Regions from separate parts of the Homo sapiens genome. Here regions 2 and 3 are each linked to region 1. The links are contacts of gene promoters, found by promoter capture Hi-C in blood cells and fetal thymus (Javierre and others, 2016). All regions are on one chromosome and are shown on one strand. The core of a region is centred on a gene start or on the middle of the fragment in contact, and the rest is flanking DNA. Distances in the headings are between cores, read along the strand shown. Region 1 holds the start of NUMBL (NUMB like endocytic adaptor protein). Region 2 holds the start of CYP2B6 (cytochrome P450 family 2 subfamily B member 6). Region 3 overlaps LOC124904790.

The links. Contacts are between HindIII fragments. The CHiCAGO score rates a contact against its expected background, and 5 or more counts as called.
Region 2: a contact is called between the fragment with the promoter of CYP2B6 here and the fragment with the promoter of NUMBL in region 1, in 5 of 17 cell types (neutrophils, naive CD8 T cells, non-activated CD4 T cells and 2 more). The highest score is 9.9, in neutrophils.
Region 3: a contact is called between a fragment that was not itself captured here and the fragment with the promoter of NUMBL in region 1, in 4 of 17 cell types (naive CD4 T cells, non-activated CD4 T cells, naive CD8 T cells and 1 more). The highest score is 6.1, in naive CD4 T cells.

Annotation. Positions count from the first base shown.
Region 1 is chr19:40,687,422-40,692,054 of GRCh38, forward strand. It overlaps NUMBL (NUMB like endocytic adaptor protein), which reads right to left and starts at 3,230. Exons shown (of 10, transcript NM_004756.5): 1 at 3,039-3,230. The coding sequence starts at 3,062. COQ8B (coenzyme Q8B) reads right to left here. Exons shown (of 15, transcript NM_024876.4): 15 at 4,109-4,633. The coding sequence ends at 4,614. RefSeq lists enhancers at 103-397, 1,521-2,460, 2,134-2,183, 3,399-4,336 and silencers at 3,023-3,362, 3,683-3,922. The HindIII fragment of the contact is 12,323 bases long and covers 1-4,633 here.
Region 2 is chr19:40,989,318-40,993,707 of GRCh38, forward strand. It overlaps CYP2B6 (cytochrome P450 family 2 subfamily B member 6), which reads left to right and starts at 1,965. Exons shown (of 9, transcript NM_000767.5): 1 at 1,965-2,159. The coding sequence starts at 1,989. RefSeq lists promoters at 1-2,004, 305-1,970, enhancers at 229-276, 259-278 and cis regulatory regions at 320-332, 1,707-1,730. The HindIII fragment of the contact is 6,148 bases long and covers 1-2,218 here.
Region 3 is chr19:41,145,065-41,149,481 of GRCh38, forward strand. All of the region lies in intron 2 of LOC124904790, which reads right to left. Among named protein-coding and RNA genes, the nearest start is that of CYP2F1, 33 kb to the left of the region's middle. The HindIII fragment of the contact is 1,408 bases long and covers 2,225-3,632 here.

The DNA.
Region 1 (4,633 bases), core at 1,980-4,479:
CAGAAAGCTGCCACTGTAAACATCTGGCCGCATATTCATGTTCGGACACACACAGTCTCTACTACAGACATTTGTCCACATACATGCAGCATGTCCTGGCCCACTCAGTTCCCACCGCAGACACCTGGTCACACCACCCACTGAAATTTGGTCACTTCCACATTCTCAGCCACATACAAAGAACGGGGCCCAGACAACCCACTAGAGCCGCACATGCGTGGCCACACCCAGTGACAGCTATGTTTCCTCAGGCACCCGCCCAAGATACTGACGTCACAGGCCCACCCAGATAGAATCACACCCAGAGTTCACCCATTTGCTGACCCAGTCCCACACGACACAATCGCAGCTATATACACTTGTTACACGTATCTCCACTGCTGCACACTGACATCTGGTCACAGATGCACACGGACAGACACACATTTGGTCCCACGGAGACCACATGCAGCCTCAACCAGACCAGTCACACCAACACACTGTTTTTGGCCACACACTGTCACGTGGTCACACATACTCAGTCATAGGTGCTCAAATCTGGTCACAGCATCAGTCACACAGTCTATTGTGACAGCCACACTCATAGGGACAGTCCTCTATACACAACCACATACAGAGGTACTGATGGCCACAGCATGCAACCACCCACAAACAACTGTCCCCAAGGATGGCCTCCCTCAAGACACAGCCATGGTGGTCCTATAGGCATGGCCACAGCATCAATGTCCATGTGACCCAGCCACCTATCATGGTCATAATCCCGTCACCCAGTGTCCATACACAGCTGTACCATGTCACTCCAATGCAGCGAAACATATAGCCTTTCTTCATGCAGGCACACAAGTCACACAGACAAGTATGTGGCCATATAGAATCACAGCCCCGTGTGGACAGGTGCACAAAGTCACAAGCCCCACCTACACACATATCTCACACATAGAGACATAAGCACACAGTTTTAGTTTCCCATGTCACAAGTACACAGTCCAGTGTATGCACATAAATGCAGTGACCAGGATGTGGCATTTATAGCTGGGTTTACACAGAAGACACAGGTCCTGACGGAGCCATGTGCACAGTCAGGGGCCAATCTCATCACCAAATCACACATTCTAACACAGGTAGTCCAGCACATACACACAGAGACAAAAACAGGCACACAGCTACAGACCCCACACTCTCACAGATGATGACATAGACACAGACATCTATAGTCACCCAGGGTCAGACATGCAGGTCAAACACAATAATATGGAAGCCATAATCATATACACACCCCTACAAACATAATTTCCTGGCACCAGCACGGAGACACATCCACAGCTTTAGTCACACACAAATAATCCCTCTAAATAGCCAGGGTTTCAGACACCAAGTCAAATACATAACCCAAATCACACATGCAAGGCTAGAAATACACACAATCACTCGTTATCACACACACTGCTAGATACAGTCATTTATATTAATACAACCTCAGTCACACACTCAGACATGGTTCTGCATACGCAACCACTGTCATACACAATACTGTCACACAACCCCAGTCACACAGATACAATGTGACTTCAGACACAATGGCAGTCACACAGGCAGAGTTGCACAGACAGGTGTGTGTCACTCACGTATATAAAATCAGGTAGAGACACAACTATAAACATTGTCAGTCACTGGGAGGGTCACACATGCACATGGAGCCATAGACAACTCCACTCACACACAGTCACAACTCCACCCACGTCCTGTCAGTCACACGCATGCCCACCCCCAGACTCAACACATACTGTCACATACCCAGTTATAGTTACCGAGGCATACAAACACAGGGTCACAAAAGACACAATCACAGACAACCACAGTCACAACCATGCACACCTCCAAACACAGACAGACTAAAAAGTACAGGATTCTGCACAGTGAGCAGCTGTCACACACACATACACAGTCACACAGATACTAGGGTCACAGACACAATCATAGACACCACCACAAGCACACACACACGACACAGGATTCCTCAGTCACCAGCTGCAGCGTACGCGTGCACACACACACACACATACACAGCCACAGTCACACAAACACAGGGCACACTCCTAGCCACCTCCCCATCGCTTGCTTCCCCCCTTCCCCCCAGGTACCACACACAAAGCCGCCGTCACCGTCACCGCAGACACTGCAGACAGACAGGGCTGCACCCGGTCCCTGGGGAGCCGCCCCCAGCCCAGCCTGTATCCTGGAGCCTGAGGGCCAGGTCCAGGAGGGGGAAGCGGTGCATTGTCTGCGGGTGGGGCCACTCTTGGACAGCTGGGCAGCCCTGGGGACAAAGGGGGTGGCCTAGGGATCCTGTGCCCTGGGACCCATGACCAAGCCAGGGGGTGGAGGGATTGGGGGTTGCCTGAAATTGTCCTTATTTTATTCAGGCTGGGGTGGGGTGGAGTCCCAGGCACAGGGACCTTGTTTTGAGAAGTGGCTGTGCCTGGGACTCCGCCCAAGGATTGGGGGGATGCTGTGCCCAGGGTGCCTCTGAGACCTGGGGGCAGGCTGTGCTTGGAGTCCCCCTAGGCCTTGGCGTGGTGGGAACGCTGTACCCAGTGACCCCATCCTCGAGACCGTACCTAGGCAGTTGTTGTGCTGAGACCCCCTTAGGCAGGGAGAGGTAGGGATTGTGTCTGGAATCGCGTCCTGGAGGCCTTGGTTTGATACGGGGGCTGTGTCCCCGACCCCATCTCCATCCCCATCTAGTTCTAGGAGTTGTACCTAGAATCTCTGTACCCCTGTCCTTGGTTTTGTGGGGGGTCTGTGTCCAGGATCCCTATTTCCAGGGCCTTGGCAAGAGATGGCCCAGGGGTCTGTGCCCAAGACCCCGGTCTCCTGGGCTTTGGCTTGTTGGGCCTGTTCCTGGACCCCCACCCGGGACCACCCTCTCCAGCCTTGGCACCCTCTCTCCATCCGGGCGCCGCGGCCGCCTCCCACCCTCCGCCACATCAGCAGCGGCGCCGCCCCCGACCCGAGCCCCCCTCTCCCGCCCTTCTCACGCTGGCCGCCGCGCTGCGGGACATCCAGGGCCCGGGCGCCCCCGCCTCCCGCGGCCCTGGCTGGGCCTGGCTCCCCGACTGCTGCTGCTGCGGTGGTGGCGGCGGCAGCTCGGTCTGACGCCGGCCAGGGCCCGGGGCCGGGGGATGGTGCGGGATGCACGCGCGCGAGCCTCCTCGGCTCCCGGGAGGATTCCGTTCCGGGGGCGGGGGAGCGTCCCTCGGCCTCGGCTCCCCGCCCCGACCCCGCCCATTGGCCCGCCGCCTGCCGTATATGCAGAAAGGTCCCGCCCCGCCCCGCCCCTTGGCCTGAAGACCCCGCCCACACGCAGACACCATCCCGCCTTCCCCGGCGCGGCCACCGCCCCGCCACGCCCATTGGCCAGTCCCGAGCTGAGCATGCCTATGAACATCGCCGAGTCCTTTCCCCCGGTCCGTCCTGGCCTGGGCTCCCTTTCCCTCCGTGACACCTGACCTCAGATCCCCTCCAGCTCCGCGTCCGAAAGAGTTGCTTCTAGAGGCGCCTTGCCGCCCCACACCCCCAAATCTTCCCGCTAACCCCATGGTTCCCCAGCCCGGCGGGGGCGGGCAGGAGCGGTGACGAGGCACTTTTTGCAAGGAAGGGGAGGGGGTGTGAACAGACCAAGGCGTCCTGATGCGCGATCGGTTCGGCTTTGGGAACGGGGGCGCCGGGGTGGGACCAGGGCGCGGTTCTGGCCGCTACGGCGCCCCCGCCGCCCCCTACGCCAATCCTGTGGGTTTGGCAAAGCAGCTGGCAGGGACATTAGAGCCCATTAGTAAAGGCGAGGTTGCCAGGAGTGAGGGGAGGGAGCCCGCAGCCAAGAGGCACTGTGTGTGTGGGAGGCCTCAGCTGCCACAGCCCTTAGAGCAGGTGGTCAGCACGTGGGGGGGGGTGGGGAAGGCGAGAAGGAGGTTCCCGGCAACAGATGGCACAGGCAGGGCTGAGGCTTTCAGACAAGGGGGTGCAGGGGGGCTGGCCATCTGCACCTGGAGGCCGCTGGCGAGCTCCTCCCCCTCTCCCCCCAACCCTAGCGCAGAGAAAAGAGCTGGGGGAAGGGGAGGGCTGCTTTTATTCCGATTGAAGATTCAGCTCCCCCCCACCCCGCACCCCTACCTCTCCAACACACTGAGAGGCTGGAACCCGGGAGAAGGCAGCTGTTGGAGGAGCGAGGGAGGCAGAGGTGAGGACTGCCTCCAGGACCATCTCGCCTTCCACGGGAGGCTTGAGGCAGAGGTGAGGGCTCCCCCTGATGAGTCTGATCTGCATAACGACATGCAGCGGCCCAAGGCTCCCTCAAATGTTGGCAAAGATAAGTTAACCGCTTCCCTGGCTTAGTTTTCGGATACCCACTTTCGAGTGGGGAGGTGCAGGATCTAGGGCACGAAGTTGGGAGTTCCCCAGCCCCAGGGATCCTGAGCTCCTGGGCCAAGGAGGAGAGCCAGGCAAGACTGGGAAGCCCAAGGGGGCTCCTCTGACCCAGGGCAGACGGGGAAGGGATAAGAGGCACTACAGCAGGGTACGGCCTGCTCTGGGGACTGAATCCCCCATGGAGGCTGTCATGAGGGATCCACCCAGG
Region 2 (4,390 bases), core at 715-3,214, 300 kb after region 1:
ATGTAGCCCCAACCCACTGTATGACCTTGGGTAAGACTTGCAAACTGTCATTGCTTCAATATCTCCATCTATAAAATGGGGATGGCAACAATACCTCACTAAGAGTGTAAAGACTGAGTTACTGTGTGTAAAGCACTTCACGCCTCCCCATCGGTGCTTCACCCTGGGGCTGCAATGAGCACCCAATCTTAGTGTCAGATGACACAGCACAGCAAGACCGAGGCCCTTGGTTCAGGAAAGTCCATGCTGCCACCTCTTCAGGGTCAGGAAAGTACAGTTTCCACCTCTTACAAATAGGACTGTTTGTCTGCTCCTCCTGGGTCAAAGTAACTTCGGGTTCAGGTCCTGGATCCAGCAAAGGGTTTGCTTAACATTGCAAGAAAGATGTTGCCTCATGGTCAAAAGTCAGGCGTAGGATGAGACAGGCAGACACGCACACATTCACACCCACGTTTTGCAAAGATGGACTGACCCTGTCAGAGGATGTGTGGGTGAAGGTGCACAGTGAGGATAGAGACATATGGGAGTCCAGTAGACATCAATCAAACTGGACTCAGTTTGCACACACCTGGAGCTCAAGAGTCTCCAGGGGGAAAACAGAGACACAAAGTCAGACAGAGAGAGAGCCAGAGAAATTTCCTGCACCGTGAAGATAGTCAGAGGCAGGGAAGAAACTCCTTAGCACTAGTTAGAGTGATCAGAAACCAAGAGGACCTGATCGCTGTACCTGCCAGGTCTCAGTTTCTGTCTCCTTCCAACTGACCACCTCTTCCTCTGAGACTCACCAGTTCTGCATCTCTTGCTCCTCCTTCTGTTTCTCCGACCACTTCCACCTGTGGCTGTCACAGAAGGGCGGATGAAGGAGGGGACACTGGAGATAGACTCAGCATCTGCAGGCTTCCAAAGAGAGGGGCTAGGAGATCCACCAACACACCAGCACAAATACACCAGCACACACAGATACACACAATTGGTTCATGTATTGCTAGGTTACAGTTTGCTATGCTACAAAGGCAGTAGGCCAAATTTGATTGAATTGAATAATTCCTTATTTTCATCAGCTTCTCCTTTTTTTTTTTTTTTTTTTTTTTTTGAGATGGAGTATTGCTGTGTCACCCAGGCTGGAGTGCAGTGGTGTAATCTTGGCTCACTGCAGCCTCCACCTCCCAGGTTCAAGTGATTCTCTTGCCTCAGCCTCCCGAGTAGCTGGGATTAAAAGTACCCACCATCACGCCCGGTTAATTTTTGTGTTTTTAGTACAGATGGGGTTTTGCCATGTGGGCCAGGATGGTCTCGAACTCTTGACCTCAATTGATCTGCCCCCCTCAGCTTCCCAACGTGCTGGGATTACAGGTGTGAGCCACCGCACCCAGCCAGCCTCTCAGTTTTGAACATGCACTACCACCACCTCCACAACACACAAATGTAAATGCACTTTCGTATATAAAACTGTATAAATACAAGGAAGCTCATACACATGCAAGGATACACACATAAGCACCCCCAGATTCAACCACAGAAATATACGCCAGTACATTTGCATAAATTCAAACACCCCTTTACATGTAAAAATCATATAAGCACATACAGGGATGCAAGCAGGCATGGACAAATGCATGCAAGCACAGACAAACAGACAAAGCTAAGTAAAAAAGTGCAAGCTCACCTATGCTTACAAAAATAGACATACATATACCCACAAACCCACACACCCACACATTCACTTGCTCACCTGGACTTTGATATCTCTACCACTGTATCCCTGCCAATATCTACAGAGTGGGTAAAGGGATAGGCATCAGGTCACTGGGTTGCCCAAGCAGGAAGTCTGGGTTCCCTAACAACTTTTTCTAAGCTAATGCTCCTGGATGATGATGAAAAAGGAGGTGGGGAATGGATGAAATTTTATAACAGGGTGCAGAGGCAGGGTCAGGATAAAAGGCCCAGTTGGAGGCTGCAGCAGGGTGCAGGGCAGTCAGACCAGGACCATGGAACTCAGCGTCCTCCTCTTCCTTGCACTCCTCACAGGACTCTTGCTACTCCTGGTTCAGCGCCACCCTAACACCCATGACCGCCTCCCACCAGGGCCCCGCCCTCTGCCCCTTTTGGGAAACCTTCTGCAGATGGATAGAAGAGGCCTACTCAAATCCTTTCTGAGGGTAAGACACAGACGAATGGGGTCTGAGGGTGAGCTGCTTCTTGCCTTGGTACTTGGGGAAGCTTCACCAAACAGAATGAGGCAGACTTCCAGAGTCAGGGGTGGCACGGGCATGGTTGGTGAGTACGGAGCATGGTGAAGCATGATGGGTGGTATTATTAGGAGAAAAGCATCAAATTAAATTTAGCAGAGTTTATTTGAGCAAAGAAGTGACTCATGAGTTGGACAGCTCCCTAAACCAGGAAAGACACCACACGGCAGTATGGTCAAGTGGTATTTACAGGCAGAAAAAGGAGGTGACATACAGAAACAGCCTGATTGGCCACAGATCACAGCTTGCCTTACTTGGTCACAATCTGAGCAGTTTGCAGCCTGTGTGGACTGAAAGCCCAGCTGCTCTGATTAGCCAACACTTGGCTACTTGTCACAAGAATATATTCATTTGGGCCAGGTGCAGTGGCTCATGCCTGTAATCCCAGTGCTTTTGGAGGCCGAGGTGGTGGATCACCTGAGGTCAGGAGTTCGAGACCAGCCTGGCCAACATGGTGAAACCTTGTCTCTACTAAAAATACAAATATTAGCTGGGCATAGTGATGCGTGCCTGTAATCTCAGCTACCCAGGAGGCTGAGGAAGGAGAATCACTTGAATCCAGGAGGCAGAGGTTGCAGTGAGCCAAAATCTTACCACTGCACTCCATCCTGGGTGACAGAGTGAGACTCCTTCTCAAAAAAAAAAAAAAAAAAAAGAATATACTCCCAAGTTAGGTTGCAGTTCACTCTACAGAGAGAGCTTTAGGTCAAATTTAATTTAATTAAACAATTCTCCCCTTTTGGTCAGCCTCAAAATTTTGAGATTGACCAAAACCTTGGGCATCAACATTACTTCTGTCACCATCATAATGGACTTGTCTGCTCTCAGTATGGAATTCACAATGGACAATGTCAACGTAGTTGAGTGATTCTTTACCTTTTCTTCATGTTTTTGTTGTTCCCACTGTAATGAGCCCACTGGATGTACAAAGAATGGCTGCATATGAGCATTTAAGACTCTTTTTTTTTCTGAGACAGGGCCTCACTCTGTCAGCCAGGCTGAAGTGCTGTGGCATGATCACGTCTCACTGCAGCCTTGACCTCCCAAGGCTCAAGTGATCCTCCTGCCTCAGCCCCCCAAGTAGCTGGAACTACAGGTGCATGCCACCACGCCCAGCTAATTTTTGTATTTTTTGTAGAGACAGGGTTTTGCCATGTTGCCCAGACTGGTCTTAAACTCCTGGGCTCAAGCAATCCACCTGCCTCGGCCTCCCAAAGTGCTAGGATTACATGTGTGAGCCACCGCACCCGGCCAAGACTCTTGAGAAAATACAACACATCAGGGAGACTGTTATGATGGCTCTCAGGAGGGTAATACGAAGAAAATGAAGTCACTGGGCCTGTAATAAACTTTGAGGAATGTGGACTTGGGGGTATAGATAAGGTCCACTGTCCACAGAGAGAAGAAAGGCTGTTAATAGTCTCTTTTAACTTGAGTGTGTCCATGAACCAAACTGATCAAAATCGAATAATTCGAAGTTCAGACAATAAAGATAGTTCAATAGTATTAGAGTCCAATTGGTCATAGATTTTGTTCAGGGCATGATGGTAATTAAGGACCAGAGCTTGCTATAAAATAACTTGATTTATAGAGACATTCATTTGTAGTTGGCCTGGTAACATATAGTATCCTGGAGACCCACTAGAAGAAACATTAAGAGTAGAAAAGTTTGGGATAGCCAGGCTTGCTGTGTTAGTCCATTCTCACACTGTTATAAAGACATACCTGAGACTGGGTAATTTATAAACAAAAGGGATGTAACTGACTCACAGTTCCACATGGCTGGGGAGGCCCCAGGAAAATACAATTCATGGCAAAAGGTGAATGAGAAGCAGGAAACTTACAATCATGATGGAAGGTGAAGGAGAAGCAAGTACCTTCTTCACAAGGTGGCAGGAAAAAGAGAGAGAGCCAAGGGGGAAGAGCCTCTTATAAAACCATCAGATCTTGTGAGAACTCACTCACTATCACAAGAACAGCATGGGGGAAACCGCCCCCAGGATCCAGTTACCTCCTACTAGGTCCTTCCCTCCACACCTGGGGATTACAATTCAAGATGAGATTTGGGTGAGGACACAGAGCCAAACCATATCACTTACCATCACCATTCAGGATGCTTGCAAACCAACTGCTAGCTGCAC
Region 3 (4,417 bases), core at 1,679-4,178, 460 kb after region 1:
CCTCCCCTTAACAACCCGCTAAAGCAGGTAAGTTATAATCGGCACCCCTTCCACTTTTCACCCTTTTTTTCTTTTTCATTTCAATATTTTTTGGGGAAACACTTGGTTTTTGGTTACATGGATAATTTCTTTAGTGGCGATTTCTGAGATTTTGGTGCACCCGTCACCCGAGCAGTTTACACTATACCCAATGTGTAGTCTTTTATCCCTCACCCCCCTCCCACCCTTCCCCTCTGAGTCCCCGAAGTCCTCTATATCATTCTTATGCCTTTACATCCTCATAGCTTAGCTCCCACTTATAAGTGAGAACATAGGATATTTGGTTTTCCATTTCTGAGTTACTTCACTTAGCATAATGGTCTCCAACTCCATCCAGGTTGCTGCAAATGTCATTACTTTGTTCCTTTTTATGGCTGAGTAGTATTCCTTGGTGAATACCTACTACTTTTTTTTTTTTTTTAGACGGAGTCTTACTCTGTCACCAGGCTGGAGTGCAGTGGCGCCATCTCAGCTCACTGCAACCTCCACCTCCCAGGTTCAAGTGATTCTCCTCCCTCAGCCTACAGGCACGCGCCACCACACCCAGCTAATTTTTGTATTTTTAGTAGAGACAGGGTTTCACCATGTTGGCCAGGATGGTCTGGATCTCTTGACCTCATGATCCACCCACCTCAGCCTCGCTAAGTGCTGGGATTACAGGCTTGAATGAGCCACTGCGCCTGCACTACATTTTCTTTATCCACTCGAGGGTTAATGGGCATTTAGGTTTGTTCCATATTTTTGCAACTGCAAATTGTGCTGCTATAAACCTGTGCATGCAACTGTCTTTTTCATACAAAGACTTATTTTCCTTTGGGTGGATACCCAGTAGTGGGATTGCTAGATCAAATGATAGTTCTACTTTTAGTTCTTTAAGGAATCTCCACAGTGTTTTCCATAGTGATTGTACTAGTTTACATTCCCGCCAGCCGTGTAAAAGTTCCCTTTTCACCACATCCATGGCCAACATCTATATGTTTTGATTTTTTAATTATGATCATTCTTGCAGGAGTAAAGTGGTATCTCATTGTGTTTTTCATTTGCATTTCCCTGATAATTTGTGATGGTGAGCATTTTTTTCATAGGTTTGCTGGCCATTTGTATATCTTCTTTTGAGAATCGTCTATTCATGTCCTTCACTTTTTACTTTTATTTGAAAAAACTGTTTTATTTGTGGATGATATCAAACATACACAAGAGTAGATATAAGACTACATGCAGCCGGGCGCAGTGGCTCACACCTATAATCCTAGCACTTTGGGAGACCAAAGTAGGCAGATCACTTGAGGTCAGGATTTCGAGACCAGCCTGGCCAACATGATGAAACTCCGTCTCTACTAAAAATACACAAATAATTTGGGTGCAGTGGCACGTGCCTGTAATCCCAGCTACTCGAGAGGCTGAGGCATGAGAATCGCTTGACCCCGGGAGTCAGAGGTTGCAGTGAACCGAGAACGCGCCACTGCACTCCAGCCTGGGTGATACAGTGAGGCTCAGTCTCAAAACAAAACAAAGAAAAGTATATCCATCACCCAGCTTCAACAATGATCAACTCATGGCCAATCTTGTTTCATCTGTGCTCCCAACAACCTCCTTCCCCAACTCCCCAAAAATTGGGATTATTTTGAAGCAAAGCCCAGACCTCGCATAAATTCACCTATAAATGTTTTCACCACATATCTCTAAAATTATCCCATTTTACCACTGGGGAAACTGAGGCATGAAGAAATCACATAACTTAATCAAGGTCACTTTTCTGATAGGAGTTCAGAGCCAGGATCAAAGCCCAGCTCTCTGGTTCTAGAGCCCTTGCCTTTGACTGTCTTGATGCCTCTGGAATCTTAGATGAGAGTCTTTTTTTTTTTTTTTTTTTTGGAAAGACAGGGTCTCACTGTATTGCATAATCTTGGCTCACTGCAACCTCCACCTCCCAGTTTCAAGCGATTCTCCTGCCTCAGCCTCCTGAGCAGCTCAGATTACAGGCACCAGACACCACACCTGGCTAATTGTTTGTGTTTTTAGTAGAGATGGGGTTTTGCCATGCTGGCCAGGCTGGTCTCAAACTCCTGACCTCAAGTGAGCCACCCGCCTCGGCCTCCCAAAGTGCTGGGATTACAAGCATGAGCCACCATGCCTGGATGCCTATATCTATTATGGACATGTCTCAGTAAGCTGTGTGCTTAAAAGCTTTGCATTCTACTGTATGTAGGTGATACCTAAAAATGAAGGCAAAGGAGAACAGATTAAGTGTCATATATTCATAACACGAATTAGTATAAAGCAAGGAAAATGAATGAACAATATACAATAAACAGGATAAATCTAAGAAACATAATTTTGAGCAAAGGAGCCAGACGTAAAACAATACGTATTACTTGTTCCTTTTGTGCAAAGTGCCCCAAAACAGGCATTTAATTATGCATACTTAGGAAGTGAAATGCTAAACCAATCATGAAATGCTAAAATGCTATAAAAGTGTAAAAAAAATCCTTTCCATTGGAAGAAGGGAGGGGATAGTCATGGGAGAAACAGTAGCAGGCATCTGGCATGTAGGCAACATTCTGTCTCTTAACCTGGGTGTACACTTGGTATCAATTCATTGAGCTATATTCATTTGTTGTATGCCCTTTTTGTATTGACATTTAAAAATATATAATTCCCCGGCCGGGCACGGTGGCTCATGCCTGTAATCCCAGCACTTTGGGAGGCCAAGGAGGGTGAATCACGAGGTCAGGAGTTCAAGACCAGCCTAGCCAACAAGGTGAAACCCTGTCTCTACTGAAAATACAAAAATTAGCTGGGCATGATGGCTTATGCCTGTAATCCCAGCTACTCGGGAGGCTGAGGCAGGAGAATTGCTTGGACCAGGACCCGGGAGGCGGAGGTTGCAGTGAGCCAAGATCGCACCACTTTACTCTAGCCTGGGCTACAGAGTGAGACTCCATCTCAAAAAAAAAAAAAAAAAAAAAAAAAAAAAAAAAAAAAATATATATATATATATATATATATATATATATACACACACACACACACACATATATACATATGTATATATAAAATTTCCCATCACATCTGAATCATGAAATACTAAGAGATACATTTAATAAAATATGTGCAAAACCAGTACACTGAAAACCACAAAACATTAAAGAAGGAAACAGAATAAGACTTGAGTAAGGGGCGAGATCCACCATGTTCAAGAATCAGATTACTCAATATTAAGATATTAGTGCTCCAGCCCAGGCGCAGTGGCTCACACCTGTAATCCCAGCACTTTGGGAGCCCGAGGCGGGTGGATCACTTGAGGTCAGAAGTTCGAGACCAGCCTGGGCAACATGGTGAAACCGATCTCTACTAAAAATACAAAAAAATTAGCTGGGCATGGTGGCACACACCTATAATCCCTAGGGAGACTGAGGTAGGAGAACAGCTTGAACCCGGGAAATGAAGGTTGCATTGAGCAGAGATAGCGCCACTGCACTCCAGCCTGGGCAAAGAGTGAAACTCCATCTCAAAAAATAATAATAGTAATAAAAGATAATAGTGTTCATCTGTAGAGTAAATGAATCCCAGACAAAATTGAAATACCAGCAAGCTTTATTTATTTATTTATTTATTTATAGAAATTGTCAAGCTGAGGCTACAATTTATATGGCAATGTAAAGGATCAACAAGAGCCAAACATCTTGAAAAAGAAAAACCAGACTGGGCGCAGTGGTTCACACCTGTAATCCCAGCACTTTGGGAGGCTGAGGCAGGCAGATCACCTGAGGTCAGGAGTTCAAGACCAGCCTGGCCAACATGGTAAACCCCATCTCTACTACAAATACAAAAATGAGCCAAGTGTGGTGGCGCACGCCTGTAGTCCCAGCTACTCAGGAGGCTGAGGCAGGAGAATCACATGAACCCAGGAGGCAGAGGTTGCGGGGAGCCGAGATGGTACCACTGCACTCCAGCCTGGGAGACAGAGCAAGACCCTGTCTCAAAAAAAAAGAAAAAAAAAGAGAAAAACCAGGCTGGCACAGTGGCTCATGCCTATAATCCCAGCACTTTGGGAGGCCAAGGCGGGCGGATCACCTGAGGTCAGAAGTTCGAGACTAGCCTGACCAAAATGGTGAAATTCCGTCTCTACTAAAAATACAAAAAATTAGCCGAGTGTGGGGGCTTGTGCCTGTAATCCCAGCTACTTGGGAGGCTGAGACACAAGAATCACTTGAACCCGGGAAGCAGAGGTTGCAGTGAGCTGAGATTGCACCACTGCATTCCAGCCTGGGTGGCAGAGTGAGACTCCCACTCAAAAAAAAAAAAAAAAAAAAAAAAAAAAGAGGCCGGGCACAGTGGTTTATGGTTTATGCCTGTAATCCCAGCACTTTGGGAG